3 separate regions of the Homo sapiens genome follow, and all the other regions are linked to region 2. The links are contacts of gene promoters, found by promoter capture Hi-C in human tissues and cell types (Jung and others, 2019). All regions are on one chromosome and are shown on one strand. The core of a region is centred on a gene start or on the middle of the fragment in contact, and the rest is flanking DNA. Distances in the headings are between cores, read along the strand shown.

Region 1 (2,974 bases), core at 35-2,534, 300 kb before region 2:
AGGACAGTGAGGGTGGGAAGTGGCCTGATGCAGGGAGTGAGGCGCAGGACAGTGAGGGTGGGAAGGAGCCTGATGCAGGGAGTGAGGAGCAGGACAGTGAGGGTGGGAGGCGGCCTGATGCAGGGAGTGAGGAGCCGGACAGTGAGGGTGGGAGGCGGCCTGATGCAGGGAGTGAGGAGCAGGACAGTGAGGGTGGGAAGTGGCCCGATGCAGGGAGTGAGGCGCAGGACAGTGAGGGTGGGAAGGAGCCTGATGCAGGGAGTGAGGAGCCGGACAGTGAGGGTGGGAAGGAGCCTGATGCAGGGAGTGAGGAGCCGGACAGTGAGGGTGGGAAGGAGCCTGATGCAGGGAGTGAGGAGCAGGTGTGAGGGCGGGAAGCGGCCTGATGCAGGGAGTGAGGAGCAGGACAGTGAGGGTGGGAAGGGGCCTGATACAGGGAGTGAGGAGCAGGACAGTGAGGGTGGGAAGGAGCCTGATGCAGGGAGTGAGGAGCCGGACAGTGAGGGTGGGAAGCAGCCTGATCTTTGCACGGGCTGCCAGGCTTCTGGTTCATACAGCCCCAGGTCAGTTTCCAGAACCCTCGCTCTTGGGTAGGGGAAAGAGACATTGCTCTGGAGTGGCAGGACGGTGGGAGAAGTTGAGTCCCTCTCATTTCTCCTCCCTCACCCCCTGCCTTCCATCCCAGTCTGAAGGCAGCCAACCTGATCCTGGGCTTGGAAGGTTGGGGGTGGGCTTCCTATCCTGGGCTCTCTGCATAGGCTCTTGTGGCTTCCCCTTTCCTCCCCTCAGGAGCGGGAGGCAGCTCTCTGGGAGAAGAAAGGACATTGGGAGTGAGAATCTGGATGTGCCTCAGCCCAGCTCTGTGTCCTTGGGCAGGTCACATGGCCTCTCTGAGCCTGGCTGAACCAGGGATAATCCACACCTCGTGGGGTCTCTGGAAGGCTTAACACAGTGCTAGGTTCCTGTGCTTTCTGGATCCGCCCTCTTGGCTAGCCAGATCCAGTCTCTTCAACTCTCTCCTCCTGAACTTTCTCTTTCCAGGCTCGGGGGGGGGGACCCAAATATAGGGGGTTCTGCGTGGCTGCCTCAGGGTTAGATGCCCTGGTGGGAAAGGGGCTTCTGGCTTCAAGATCAATGTTTAACTGGATGTGCAAGTCAATATTTACCAGAAGAGAAAGCAATCTGAACAGGGGTTGGCTGAGAGTAAAGGTCCTGGTGGGAGGGGAGGGGTGGGCTGGGCCAGCTGGAGCCTGGGCAGAGAGTGAGGAGCACCCAAGTGGGGCCAGAGGAACGTTGTGTGTGGCAGCAAGGAGCCCGCAGAGGTATGAGGGGAGGGGCTGCTCGGCCTGCTCCTTGGGTAGGAGAGGAGGAGGGAGCTGCCTCCCTGGCTGAGGGGTCTGGGATTTATTCAGGAGGCCTGTCACTCCCCAGCCTCTTCTGGGACTTGAAAAACTGGAGCCTGTTCTTGGCAAGAAGATTCTAATGCCCAGGTCGGAGTCGGGGCCCTGGCCAAGGGCTCTTGTGTGGGATGGGGGTGGGGCCGGGGGGACCAAAGGATCCTCCAGAAGGGTTGGCCCCAAGATGGGGGTGGGCTGGAGGTAGCTGAGACCTGCTCTGACTTATCCTCCTGAGACCAACACCTGCCCTTCCCAGAGCCAGCCTGGAGCAGAGGCCTGTGATGCTCCTAAGTGCAGAGGTGGCTCTGGCCAGAGTCATTCACTGGGCTCTGCTGCTGGGTCAAAAGGCAGCTCTCTGGCTGCCTTGCCACCCATGGTGAGACCTCAGGGCCTCACAGGTATGTCCAGCCTTGTGGGCAAGACCTGACCAGCCTGAGAAAGACGGGTTGGGGCCAGGCGTGGTGGCTCATGCCTGTCATCCCAGCACTTTGGGAGGCTGAGGCAGGTGGATCACCTGAGGTCAGGAGTTCGAGACCAGCCTGACCAACATGGAGAAACCCTGTCTCTACTAAAAATACAAAATTAGCCAGGCATGGTGGCACATGCCTGTAATCCCAGCTACTCGGGAGGCTGAGGCAGGAGAATCGCTTTAACCCAGGAGGTGGAGGTTGCAGTGAGCCGAGATCGTGCCATTGCACTCCAGCCTGCATGATAAGAATGAAACTCCATCTCAAAAAAAAAAAAAAAAAAAAAAAAGACAGGCTAAATGGATGCAGCAGGCTGGGTAGGAGCTCTGTGTTGGAGCTCTGCGGTGGAGGCTTCAGGGCAGGCTTCCCAGAAGAGGTGGCCTTGAGCCAAGCTGACCCCAGCCATCGGGGGAGTGCCAAGCATTGTACTCAGGGTTTACAAAGATGGTCTTATTTATTTTTTTGAGACAGAGTCTTGCTCTGTCGCCCAGGCTGGAGTGCAGTGGCGTGATCTCGGCTCACTGCAACCTCCGCCTCCCGGGTTCAAGCAGTTCTCTGCCTCAGCCTCCCGAGTAGCTGGGATTACAGGGGCCCACCACCACGCCTGGCTAATTTTGTATTTTCAGTAGAGATGGGGTTTTACCATGTTGGCCAGGCTGGTCTTGAACTCCCGACCTCAGGTGATCCACCTGCCCCTGGCCTCCCAAAGTGCTGGGATTACAGGCTTGAGCCACCGTGCCTGGCCACAAAGATGGTCTTTTGCCGGGTGCAGTGGCTCATGCCTGTAATCCCAGTACTTTGGGAGGCCGAGGCAGGAGGATCACCTGAGGTCGGGAGTTTAAGACCAGCCTGACTAACACAGAGAAACCCCGTTTCTACTAAGAAATACAGAATTAGCCAGGCGTGGTGGTGCATGCCTGTAATCCCAGCTATTCGGGAGGCTGAAGCAGGAGAATCGCTTGAACCTGGGAGGTGGAGGTTGCGGTGAGCCGAGATCCTGCCACTGCACTCCAGCCTGGTCAACGAGAGCGAAACTCCGTCTCAAAAAATAAACAACAAAAAATCCCAAAAAGACGGTCTTATTTTGGTCCTCACCATGCATGTGAGAAG
Region 2 (2,834 bases), core at 1-2,500:
TTTGGGGCTCAGAGGCAATGGCAACATCACATTTGTCCTTGTGAGATGAGTTTGAGCGGTGGCTGACACCTGCCCTGTACCAGGTACTAAATGTGGTTCTGGGGATACTATCACCAGTGAGCTGCCCTGGAAAGCTCATTGTCGGCAGAGGAAACAGGAGAAAACACGCAACAATACAGTATTCCAAACAGCAGTGGGTCACTGTCTTTACTTTAGGATTCATAAAGCCTGTTAATGAATGGGTGTGCTGGGGGCACTGTCATGTTCTTCAGCATGCTGCCTGGGCGACGAGGAGGCCCTTCCTAGGGTCTGACCTGGCTTCCCTTCCCAGGTGGGTGCAGGTGGCATGTCCACGTCTCTCCATTGACTGGGGCACAGCCTTCCCCAAGCCGCTGCTGACACCCTATGAGGTAACACCAAGCTCTGGGAGAGAGTGGGCTTTGGACGTGGTTCTCAAAGGTGAGGTCTGGAGTGGAGTGGGGTGGGTGGGCAGCACTTCGTTATGTTCGTAGATTCCGGAGTCTGTCTCGATTTCTCCAGCGGAGTCACTTCCTAGCTGTGTAGCCTTAGGCAAGGCCCTGAACCACACAGTTCCCTTCTGTGGCAGGGGACAGTGTGCCCTTCACAGGCCGTCGTGAGGACTGAATTCAGTAATCCAGGGGCAGAAAAACACTGGCAGATGTTATTGTCCCTCCCTCCCCTCCCCTAGGCGGCCGTGGCTCTGAGGGACATTTCCTGGCAGCAGCCCTACCCGATGGACTTCTACGCTGGCAGCTCCTTGGGGCCCTGGACGGTGAACCACGGCCAGGACCGCCGTCCCCACGCCCCGGGCCGGCCCGCGCGGGGGAAGGTAGGCGGGGGCTTCCAGGAGGGAGGAGAGACCGCGCCTGGGCACTGGCCGCCGCCCTGCGACCGCGACGGGAAACGCACAGGAGCGGAGCGGAGGGAAACGCAGGGTCGCAGGAGCGAGACCCTAACCAAAGTCTGCGACCTCAGGTGCAGGAGGGGTCCGCGCGTCCCCCTTCGGCCGTGGCTTGCGAGGACTGCAGCTGCAGGGACGAGAAGGTGGCGCCGCTGGCTCCTTGACGCGCTCCCGGGCCTCAGGTATCAGCCCCCGCTCTGGGTGCGCCCCGCCTTTTGCCGTTGTCATGGGAACGCCTTGGCGCTCCGAGGCCCGCCCTCGGGGCGGTGCTGACGTTCGGTTCCGCCCCGTGCATTGTGCTTCCGCTCGGGGAAAGACCGCTTCCGGTGCTTCCGTCGCTCCTTGCCGGGCATAATGGCCGCGCAGCGACCCCTGCGGGTCCTGTGCCTGGCGGGCTTCCGGCAGAGCGAGCGGGGCTTCCGTGAGAAGACCGGGGCGCTGAGGAAGGCGCTGCGGGGTCGCGCCGAGCTCGTGTGCCTCAGCGGCCCGCACCCGGTCCCCGACCCCCCGGGCCCCGAGGGCGCCAGATCAGACTTCGGTGAGACAAGCCCCGCTCCGGAAACGCACTCAGTTTCCTCCATCTTGTTTCGTCCCCCTCGACACCCTTCAGCATCCCCCACCCTGCGTCCACCCGCATTCCTCCCACCCAGTCCACACCCTTCATTTCTCGCGACCCATACCCTCTTTGCTCAAACTGCAGCCTGTCCTCCCAGGCTTCCGCCTTCACCGTCTTCCTCCGCTGTCTCCTGTTCAGGCCAATCCACTCATTTCCCCCCTCTCATTTCCCCCAGACTTTTGCCTCGATTCCCTTTTTCTCTCTGTCATCTCGAACCCTCCTGCCCTTTCTCATTTCTTTCCTTCCTGGAGCCTCCCATGCCCTAATCCCATCCTTTTTCCTCATATCGCTGTAGGGTCCTGCCCTCCGGAGGAGCAGCCTCGAGGCTGGTGGTTTTCAGAGCAGGAGGCCGACGTTTTCTCCGCATTGGAAGAGCCCGCCGTCTGCAGGGGCCTGGAGGAATCACTGGGGATGGTGGCACAGGCACTGAACAGGCTGGGGCCTTTTGACGGCCTTCTTGGTTTCAGCCAAGGGGCTGCGCTAGCAGCCCTTGTGTGTGCCCTGGGCCAGGCAGGCGATCCCCGCTTCCCCTTGCCACGGTTTATCCTCTTGGTGTCTGGTTTCTGTCCCCGGGGCATTGGGTTCAAGGAATCCATCCTGCAAAGGCCCTTGTCATTGCCTTCGCTCCATGTTTTTGGGGACACTGACAAAGTCATCCCCTCTCAGGAGAGTGTGCAACTGGCCAGCCAATTTCCCGGAGCCATCACCCTCACCCACTCTGGTGGCCACTTCATTCCAGCAGCTGCACCCCAGCGTCAGGCCTACCTCAAGTTCTTGGACCAGTTTGCAGAGTGAAAGATCAAGAAATGTCTCTGCTCCTACATCCAGCTCCTCTAGGGGCAGCCTCCGTCATCCATGCCCTCCCAGGACCCTCCACTCACTGCTGTGAGTGCGCCTCACCAGAACCAGTTAAGAGACAACTATCAATTCTTGAGACCCAAATTATAAGGGCCCTGCCCTGTACTGAAGAAAAGGGGAGCACAAGGCCTTAATGGACATTGACTTGTGAAAACGCAAACATGAATATGGTTGGAGAGCCCTGGATTAGGAGGGTGACATGGGGAAGGCAGAGGCTGGCACCATGGTGACTGCCACATAATAAAGTGGTGATTTGGATTTTGAGCATCTTTTTCCTGGTACACACAGAAAAACATTTTATAATGGAAGTCGGTTTCTTGGCCATCTACATAGTTTTCTGGGCAGCGCCAAGCAGGGAGGTGTCTCCAGTTGTGAGTCCTCGGACAGGCTGCTGCATGGGTGCACATACTCACGTTATTGGTGGAAGTTTTAAGTCCC
Region 3 (2,934 bases), core at 315-2,814, 490 kb before region 2:
AAACTTAGAAACCTGCTCTACCAGGCAGCTTCCTAAGCACTGCAGGGAAATTTCTGGGCAAAATCTGGAAAGTGAAGCAGAGGACGAGGACAATTCACTGCTCACCACAAGGCTGAAAGAGCCCTAACTTTCAAAGCAAAATCCCAGAACAAAATGCCATGAAAAGGGGCAGCAATCGAGGCTCAGTGAAATCCATACAGAGGAACATATGGGTGAAAGCCAGTCACCTTGACCTTGCTAATCCTAAGCTGCATCAGTGCTGCCTCAATGCCCCCCTGGAGCCCCAAGCTGTCCCTGTGCCTCTCCAAGTCCACCACCCAGCTAGGCACACATGAAAACCCGTCAGGTGGGTCAGGGCTTGGCTGAGCCAGGGGTGCCTAAGAAGGAGCAGTAACTCCGTTTCAGAGAAGAGCCGTAAGAACATCTAACCACTGACTCAGCAATCCTAAAGGACAGGCTGGGGAGAGGGCCTGGTGGAGGGGGCGAGGTTCCCAGCTAGTGGTACCACTTGGGAAGGGGGACCCCAGGCAGAGACTAATCGCCTTCATTTGGTTTCTCTTCAGCTGCAGGAATCAGAGGGCAGGTTCTAAGAGGATCAGCCTGTTGGCTGGCATCTTCCCCCTTCAATCTCTCTTGATATTCTGATCCTTTAATCCCAATGAGACAAGTGAAGGCAGTTTTGTTAATCTAAAGGGGTAAGCAAGACTGGCCTGCACAAGCTACAAGTGAAGGGCGCTTTTCACGTTAGAGTTCCTTTTGGCACAGCTGCTCTGCCCCCTGGGAAAGCAGCCAGACTCGGATGGGGCAGAGATAGGAGTGGGAGGGTCAGATCATTAAATCAGATTTAAAAAACTCCAACAGGACTGGGAATCTAGCCTCCTCAGACCTGCGATGATGTTCCTTGCTCTTGAGATCTGTTCACCTATCCCAGAGAACTAAGACATTCAACTAAGAAAAACAGACTCCACAACTTTGGCAATCTGGGAGGGGGAGCCCAGTGGGTGGGCCTGAAATACTGACATGAAACACGTCATAAACAACAGTACAGCTTTGGTCCCACCAACATGGCCCTGTCAGGCTGGGTACCAGAGGGGGACTGGTGCCGTGAATCTCTGGAAACAAGAAGTGAAGCAGCCCGGCCGACCTGTGCCAGGAAGCACTGGTGGACACACCCCGTCAAACAGCCAGGGCTTTCTCGCTCTGCTGCACAACGCCCAGACACTCAGGGTTAGACCAAAGGCTCTGGCCACCCAGAAGCTAATTCTGCCCCCAAAATATTGATGCAGGCCATCGGAATGATTACAAAGGCATGACCTTCTCTTTCCCTTTCTTCACTTTCCCCTAAATCAGAAAACTGCAAAGGCCTCAAGTCATGGCCTCCAATTTAGGAAGTGAATCCACCAGTCACAAGATGCTGAGCTGTTCCCATAGAAACTGTTAAGTCAGGATGGGGATGGGGTTACTGACAAAGACTCTGAGAAGGTTGATCATGAATTGTTTCTTCTTCGGCCTTCCCCTCCAAGATTTTTCTAATTCTCTGAAACTAAGTTCCGCTTCGACCCTACCCAGGCCACGTGGTACTTTCTTGTCAATGGTTTCTTGCTGAGAACGGGCTGACCACTGCCAGGCAGACAGGTGAATCCTGATCAGCACTCACTTCCCAAGCTTCTGCTTAGACTTCAGGCTCTGATTACTCAACTCCGCCCCACCACTTCCTCAATGCTGCAGAAAAACCATCACAAGTGAACACCCGCCAACTGTGGATGCTCTCAAGGTGGAAGTTCCCCTTTCCTTCCAGTCTTGGCCCCACCATAAGCCATCAGTGTCTGGCCCTTCAGCCTTACTCCAAGAACAGCCCCAGGTGCTCCAGGACAGGCTGGCCCTCCTTGGTCTGCAGCACTTCTCAGAGACACTCTCGCCCTTCGTTCCATCAAGAAACTCCCTATCAAAGGATCCATTTCACCCCTAATCACCACACTAAGGAAATCCCGAGTTCCTGGGGCACATCTTCCTAACGATCGGGGTGGGATCATCCTGTACAGCAGAGAGGACGTCACTGGACACCTCCCCAAGAGCTGAGTTTGAGGGCAAGGGACGCGCTGGGCTTTCCTGCTTGGCCTTCTGGTTTGGAAAATCATCGCTTGCTATTTTCAATAAAGACAGCACAGGCTGGGTGAAGTGGTTGACATCTGTAATCCCAGCACTCTGGGAGGCTGAGGCAGGAGGACTACTTGAGGCAAGACCAGCGTGGACAACAGAGTGAGACCCTATCTCCACTATTTAAAATAAATATTATAAAATAAAAAAAATAAAGACAGCATGGCCAAAGCAGGTGGGTTAACAAGACCCTTCCAAGCCAACACCTGTCAGCCCAGGCACCTGGTTCTCAGGCCCCAGGTACATCCCCAGTGCCTACAGGGATTAGAGCCATCTACCCAGCCATTCCCTCATTCTCCCTGGTTCCCAGGTTCCCCAGTCTCGTTTCTCTTTTCTGCCCTTCCCAGAACCCCAAGATCACGGTCAAGGCCCACCTCTGGCCCCCTCCCCAGGTCCCCACAGCTCTTATCAGATATGTAGCCCACCCCTGGAGGCAGTCCTCTAAAGGGCCAGTGTCTGCCCACCCCTCTCGGGGGCCAACAAGCCTGGATGTCTGTCTCAACTAAATGTGCTGCAGGCTCTGCTGGCCTGATTTCATTTTTCAAAGGTGCAGTTCATATTGGGAACAGAGTGGAAGTTATCACAGGAGCTTCATGCTGACACTGCAGGAAAGAGAGACGGAGCCCAGTGACTGGAGGCACTATACTGGCTGACGAACCTCACCCAAACTCGAGTTTAACTGGAAGCTGGGGCGGGGTGGGGCTGTGATTTCAGAAGGAAGCAAAGAACAAGGCTGCGCCAGGAGAGGAGAGTGGAAGAAGTTCAGAGAAAGAGTGA

What was found. Contacts are between HindIII fragments. The study calls those that stand out against the background at their distance.
Region 1: a contact is called between the fragment with the promoter of SERPINF2 here and the fragment with the promoter of OVCA2 in region 2, in 1 of the 25 tissues and cell types used here (dorsolateral prefrontal cortex).
Region 3: a contact is called between a fragment that was not itself captured here and the fragment with the promoter of OVCA2 in region 2, in 6 of the 25 tissues and cell types used here (aorta, dorsolateral prefrontal cortex, hippocampus and 3 more).

The regions. Positions count from the first base shown.
Region 1 is chr17:1,741,587-1,744,560 of GRCh38, forward strand. SERPINF2 (serpin family F member 2) reads left to right here and starts at 1,285. Exons shown (of 10, transcript NM_000934.4): 1 at 1,285-1,322. The HindIII fragment of the contact is 23,738 bases long and covers 1-2,974 here.
Region 2 is chr17:2,040,772-2,043,605 of GRCh38, forward strand. OVCA2 (OVCA2 serine hydrolase domain containing) reads left to right here and starts at 1,251. Exons shown (of 2, transcript NM_080822.3): 1 at 1,251-1,460; 2 at 1,834-2,654. The coding sequence starts at 1,277. The coding sequence ends at 2,333. It overlaps DPH1 (diphthamide biosynthesis 1), which reads left to right. Exons shown (of 13, transcript NM_001383.6): 10 at 332-410; 11 at 710-850; 12 at 997-1,104; 13 at 1,834-2,834. The coding sequence ends at 1,086. RefSeq lists silencers at 754-843, 1,354-1,553 and an enhancer at 1,104-1,163. The HindIII fragment of the contact is 24,727 bases long and covers 1-2,834 here.
Region 3 is chr17:1,554,654-1,557,587 of GRCh38, forward strand. All of the region lies in intron 2 of PITPNA (phosphatidylinositol transfer protein alpha), which reads right to left. Among named protein-coding and RNA genes, the nearest start is that of PITPNA, 6.7 kb to the right of the region's middle. RefSeq lists an enhancer at 1,163-1,232 and a silencer at 1,649-1,849. The HindIII fragment of the contact is 8,751 bases long and covers 1-2,934 here.